2 separate regions of the Homo sapiens genome follow, and region 2 is linked to region 1. The links are contacts of gene promoters, found by promoter capture Hi-C in human tissues and cell types (Jung and others, 2019). All regions are on one chromosome and are shown on one strand. Each heading gives the region's core, a stretch centred on a gene start or on the middle of the fragment in contact. The rest is flanking DNA. Distances are from core to core; before and after follow the strand shown.

Evidence for each region. Contacts are between HindIII fragments. The study calls those that stand out against the background at their distance.
Region 2: the fragment with the promoter of TSKS here is called in contact with a fragment that was not itself captured in region 1 in 1 of the 25 tissues and cell types used here (pancreas).

Annotation. Positions count from the first base shown.
Region 1 is chr19:49,902,315-49,905,014 of GRCh38, forward strand. It overlaps a transcript of IL4I1 not described here. Among named protein-coding and RNA genes, the nearest start is that of IL4I1, 6.8 kb to the left of the region's middle. The HindIII fragment of the contact is 8,874 bases long and covers 1-2,700 here.
Region 2 is chr19:49,762,056-49,765,957 of GRCh38, forward strand. It overlaps TSKS (testis specific serine kinase substrate), which reads right to left and starts at 1,251. Exons shown (of 11, transcript NM_021733.2): 1 at 1,023-1,251; 2 at 1-177. The coding sequence starts at 1,192. It also overlaps the pseudogene RNU6-841P. RefSeq lists enhancers at 1-4, 3,611-3,902. The HindIII fragment of the contact is 39,317 bases long and covers 1-3,902 here.

The sequences.
Region 1 (2,700 bases), core at 201-2,700:
AAAAACTACAATATCATTATCATATTTTAAGATGGCAGCCATTTCTTTTTTTTTTTTTTTTTTGAGATGGAGTCTCGCTCAGTTGCCCAGGCTGGAGTGCAGTGGCACGATCTCGGCTCACTGCAAGCTCCGGATGGCAGCCATTTCTTAATATCATTAAATCAATGTTCACGTTTCCTGGAATAGCTCATCACTGAAAAACAAAACAAAACAAAACAAAAAAACAGTTTAGGCCGGGCATGGTGGCTGACACCTGCAATCACAGTACTTTGGGAGGCCGAGGTGAGCGGATCACCTGAGGTCAGGAGCTCAAGACCAGCCTGGGCAACATGGTGAAACCCCATCTCTACTAAAAATACAAAAATTAGCCAGGCGTGGTGGCGGGCACCTCTGTAATCCCAGCTACTCAGGAGGCTGAGGCAGGAGAATCACTTGAACCTGGGAGGCAGAGGTCGCTATGAGTTGAGATCATGCCACTCCAGCCTAGGCGACAGAGCGGGACTGCATCTCAAAAAAAAAAGGCCAGGTGTGGTGGCTCATGCCTGTAATCCCAGCACTCTGGGAGGCCGAGACAGGTGGATCACAAGGTCAGGAGATCAAGACCATCCTGGCCAACATGGTAAAACCCTGTCTCTACTAAAAATACGAAAATTAGCTGGGTGTGGTAGTGCACGCCTGTAGTCCCAGCTACTCAGGAGGCTGAGGCAGGAGAATCGCTTGAACCCGGGAGGCAGAGATTGCAGTGAGCCGAGATCACACCACTGCACGCCAGCCTGAGCAACAGAGCAGGACTCTCTGAAAAAAAAAACAACAACAAAACAAAAAACGGTTGGTTTGTCAAGATGCAAATCACAGTCCATATTGCATTTGAGTGACATTGTCTTGGTCAGTAAGTGTCACTATCAGTTCTGTGGATTCAAGGGAACTAGGGTATCTGAGGTGACCCCAGGGCACCAGGCTAGTCCCCATCACGGCAGCGCACCCGGTCTGCTTCTTGCCTCGGGAAACCTTTGGCGTCTGAGAGGGTTCAACCTGATGGTGTCTGGAGGGGAGACGGGACAAGGGCGCCCATGTGGGTCACTGTGTTTGAAGTCACCAGGGCCCTGGTGTGCAGAAGCCAAGGGTGTGGTCCTGTGGGACAGGCAGGGGAACAGCCGGGGTCACTGAAACCTGGCTGGGGGGCTGGCTGCTGTGCAAGAAGCAGACCTCGCTTCCGAGCGTGAGGGCTTTGCTCCCTGGGAGGTTCTGTGGAGAGCCGCTGCCCTGAGTCTGAGGGGCAGATTTTTAAAGCACCCTGACATTTTTGGGGTTTACTGAAAACTTGGGAGCAGTGGTGTGCTGAAGCTGAGTCATACCAGGTCATAAGAGCTGATTTACATTTTCAGGAGTTTTTGCTTTGCAAGCCACTCATTACTAAAAAATAAATTGTATTGATGATTAGTTTTTACTAAAAAAGAATAAAAAGTCATCATTCCCTCATGGTTTGACTACATATTATACTGTTATATGTGCTGGGTTTTTTTTTTTTTTTTTTTTTTTTTTGAGACAGGGTCTCACTTTTGTTACCCAGGCTGGAGTGCAGTGGTACGATCTCGGCTCACTGCAATGTCTGCCTCCCAGGTTCATGTGATCCTCCCACCTCAGCCTCCAAGTATCTGAAACTACAGGCAGGAGCCACTACGCCAGGCTAATTTTTGTATTTTTGTAGAGACGAGGTTTCGCCATGTTGCCCAGGCTGGTCTCAAACTCCAGACCCCAAGTAATCTACTCCCCTTGGCCTCCCCAAAATGTCGGGATTACAGGCATGAGCCACCACACCCAGCCCCCATTTGCCACTCTTATCCCTAAACAGGGGAAAGCAAAGCAGTAAGAGCTGAGATTCACCTTTAAAAGCCTCTGATTCCAAATTTAGTCACCAAATGTGTTGTCTTCATATGAATTAATGAGGAACTTAAGGAAAGGCCATTTGTCAGGACTGGGAAGGAAGCACATCTGTGTATTTTCTTCCTGGAAAGGGAAACTGAAATTACGATGGAGCCATCACCCGCGGTGGCACCCAGTCGGTTGCTGATGCTGCTGCGATCTCGGGATCCCTCCTAGACTCCCCCAGGAGGCCTGTTGGGACCATTTCTCACATGGCTTTGGGGCACAGAGCCTCCTGATTTAATGGAATCACTTGTGTTATTCAGAGTGGGGTGCTCAAGATCCTTTGGGGTATGGGAAGAAAATGCAGAACTTAAAATTTTTTTTTTGAGATGAAGTCTAACTTTGTTGCCCAGGCTGGAGTGCAGTGGCGCGATCTTGGCTCACTGCAACCTCCGCCTCCCAGGTTCAAGTGATTCTCCTGAGTACCTGGGAGTTACAGGCACCCACCACCACGCCGGGCTAATTTTTGTATTATTTATTTACTTATTTGAGACGGAGTCACTCTTTTGCCCAGGCTGGAGTGCAGTGGCTTGATCTCTGCTCACTGTAAGCTCCGCCTCCCGGGTTCATGCCATTCTCCTGCCTCAGTCTCCCGAGTAGCTGGGACTATAGGCGCCTGCCACCACACCCGGCTAATTTTTTTATATTTTTAGTAGAGACAGGGTTTCACCGTGTTAGCCAGGATGGTCTCGATCTCCTAACCTCGTGATCCGCCCACCTTGGCCTCCCAAAGGGCTGGGATTACAGGCATGAGCCACCGTGCCCAGCCCCTAA
Region 2 (3,902 bases), core at 1-2,500, 140 kb before region 1:
GCAGGGGGCCCAGCCAGTGTGAGTTGGCCGCTGAGGTCTTCCACTGTGGAGTCTGTCCCCGTGGAGTCAGTGGGCTCCATGGCGGCCAGGTTGAGCAGTGACACGTTGGTGCAGGCCGAGGACCGTTTGAGGTTCAGGCACCAGTGCATGGGCTGATGGGACATCTGGGGCTCCACCCTGCAGAGAAGAAACAGGCAGAAAAGTGGAGAAGCAGCCCCAGGGTGTCTGGGCCCTCCTGCCTTCCTTTCTCCATACCTCACCCCCTGTGACTCCACCCTCACTGTATATAAGTTTCTCCCTTCTCTGTCCCCGCTGCCTACTTTATTCTCCTTCCCTGTGCTGCCTACTTTCTTTCTTTTTTCTTTCTTTCTTTTTTTTTTTTTTTTGAGACAGAGTCTCACTCTGTTGCCCAGGCTGGAGTGCAGTGGCGCGATCTCAGCTCACTGCAACCTCCGACTGCGGGTCCCAGTTCAAGCAATTCTCCTGCCTCAGCCTCCTGAGTAGCTGGGGTTATAGGCATGTGCCATCACGCCCAGCTAATTTTAGTATTTTTAGTAGAGATGGCTTTTCACCATGTTGGCCAAGCTGGTTTTGAACTCCTGACCTCATGATCCACCTGCCTCGGCCTCCCAAAGTGCTGGGATTACAGGCGTGAGCCACCGTGCCCGACCACCACTGTCTACTTTCTTCTTCTCCTTCCCCGCTGCCTACTTTCTCCTCCCTTCTCTGCCACCTACTTTCTTCTTCATTCACTAGCCTCCCTTCTCCTTCTTCCCTCCCCACTGGCTTTTTCCTCTCTCCATCCATCCCCATTACCTTCTTCCTCCCTCCATCCATCCCCATTACCTTCTTCCTCTCTACCTCCCTGTGACTTGATGTCTCTTCACTGCTGCCCTCTTTCCTGCCCCCGACCTGCTGGCTTTTCCCCCTCCCCTTCCTCTAGCACCCACAGTCGGACTCCTGCTCTGTTGGAGGTAGTGCTGGGCATTAGAACCATCCCTGACAGTGTGCAACAAACCCACCCGTGGAACGACACGGCCTTCTTTTTCTTCGGGATCCCCTTGGCCCGGCTGGTCACCCTCCGGGGAGCCTCTGGGACTAGCTGGGAGCAGCTCTCCACCCCCGTGGGGGTGTCCCCGGCCTCATGGATCTCTTTGGACTGCCAGATCGTCTTCACCACCACGCTCGCCATGGTGTGGGGGTCTGGCTCCCAGGGAGGGGCTCCTTCCTCTGAGACTTCCTACCTACTGTGACCACAGACCCTCAGGATCCACTGTCCCCTCAGCCTGCCTCACAAAGGACCCAACCACTGGGCCCCAGTGAGTGGGGGGCACAGGGTAGGGAGAGATGCTGGCCCAGGTCATTCCCCTAGGGTTCTCAGTGGACTCCTCCTGTTCAGGATTCTAGTTACATGCCCAATGTGCCCCCCGTCTTCAGAGCTCCAGTGGATGGATTCATGCTAGCCTGTAACTTAACAATGGGTCGGCCCACGGATTCTTGGGAGAGGTCCAACTTCCCTCTCCCTGAGACTAAGCGTGGGGTCACACAGCCCTGTGCACTTGTTCTTGATTCTTCATGTAGCTTCCTGGATTTGACAATTGGCTGGGGTTTGAGAGACTGTGGTCGAAGAGGGCTGAGATCCAGACCCTGACCTGGAGGGTCTCATATTCTATGGGGCGTCGGGGTCGGGGGAAAGGCAATATACAGGTAGATCAACAAAAGAAAGCTAGGTGCGGTGGGCCTCGGGGTCAGGGTAGAAGGTGAGGGAGGAGAGGAAGGTAGAGAGTTGGGGCAGGACAGAGGGTGGTATCCCCCTCCCCCGTTTATTTATTTATTATTTTCTTTAATACTTTTTATTTTTTTTGAGACAGAGTCTCTCTCTGTCATGGAGGCTGGAGTTCAGTGGCGCGATCTCAGCTCATTGCAACCTCCACCTCCCGGGGTTCAACCGATTCTCCTGCCTCAGCCTCCCCAGTAGCTGGGACTACAGGCGCTGGCCACAATGTCCGGCTAATTTTTGTATTTTTAGTAGAGACGGGTTTCACCATGTTGGCCAAGTTGGTCTCAAACTCCCGACCTCAAATGGTCCACCCGCCTTAGCCTCCCAAAGTGTGGGATTACAGACATGAGCCACCATGCTCCGCTATAATTTTTTTTTTTTTTTTTTAGATGGAGTCTCGCTCTGACACCCAGGCTGGAGTGCAGTGGCGTGATCTTGGCTCATTGCAACCTCTACCTCCCAGTTTCAAGCGATTCTCCTGCCTCAGCCTCCTGAGTAGCTGGGACTACAGGTACCTGCCACCACACCCATCTAATTTTTTTTTTGTATTTTTAGTAGAGACAGGGTTTCACTGTGTTGGCTAGGCTAGTCTCCAACTCCTGACCTCGTGATCTGCCCACTTCAGCCTCCCAAAGCATTGGAATTACAGGTGTGAGCCACTGCGCCCCGCCCGCCCAAAGTATTTAAAAAATATATGGAACATGTCACAAATTTGCATGTGGTCTTTGCGCAGGGCCCATGCTAATCTTCTCTGTATCGTTCCAATGTTAATACATGTGCTGTCGAAGCGAGCACTGCCCTGCTATTTAGGGACAGACTTTTCCTGTTCTCTTCACACTTCTCAAAAAGACTAGTTCAAACATCACTGCTAATAGACATTTTAAATGCTGTTATCCCCAGGGAGAAAGTACTTCTTCCTGGTCATGAATGGACTCCAGTTCTTGGAACACTTAATCTTTCTATAATAAAGAACTCCTGGCTGGGCGCGGTGTCTCACACCTGTAATCCCAGCACTTTGGGAGGCCGAGGCGGGCGGATCACCTGAGGTTAGGAGTTCAAGACCAGCCTGGCCAACATAGTGAAACACTGTCTCTACAAAAATACAAAAATTAGGCGAGCATGATGACGGGTGCCTGTAATCCCAGCTACTTAGGAGGCTGAGGCAGGAAAATCGCTTTAACTCGGGAGGAAGAGGTTACAGTGAGCCGAGATTGAGTCACTGAACTCCAGCCTGGGGGACAGAGAGAGACTCTGTCTCAAAAAAAAGAAAAAAAAAAAAGGCCGGGCGCAGTGGCTCACGCCTGTAATTCCAGCACTTTGGGAGGCCGAGGTGGGCGGATCACAAGGTCAGGAGATCGAGACCATCCTGGCTAACACGGTGAAACCCCGTCTCTACTAAAAACACAAAAAATTAGCCAGGCATGGTGGCGTGCGCCTGTAGTCCCAGCTACTTGGGAGGCTGAGGCAGGAGAATGGCGTGAACCCGGGAGGCGGAGGTTGCAGTGAGCTGAGATCGCGCCACTGCACCCCAGCCTGGGCGACAGAGCGAGACTCCATCTCAAAAAAAAAAAAAAAGAACTTCAAGTCCTGGGATTAATAATTTTTCTTGTGTTTAATGGGGCTGCTTTATGTTCTTCAGGGGCAAACAGCACCCCCCTCCCATATTAGAAATGGACTCTCCCTGTGACTAAAACAGCTGAGCAATTTCTGTCCTCCTGGAATCCAAAATGGACTTTCCCAGGCCCCATTCCTGGAAACCCAAATGGACGCATCCATTGAGCCTGGAAGGTGGGCTCTTCTCAACCTCCTTTCCATCTCCCAGGATTCAGAATGGCCATTCCAAAGGTCCAGAACACACCCCCAAGGCTCATTCCAGGAATTCTTGGCTTCTGAGATTAGAAAAGGCTGATGGGGTGGAGTTTTGTTCCTACAGGTGACAGAAATGGACTCTTCCAGTTCCCTTTGTCCCAAATTTCTCAATCTCCTGGGGCGTTGGGAGTTCTGGCCGTTTTGCCTTCCCCAAAGCCAGTTTACCAAAGAGTCTCTGGGGAGCTGGGGGTTGGGGATGGAGGCTGGGGCTGGGCCAAAGCAGATTCACCTATTTCTTCTTTTAACAAATGTT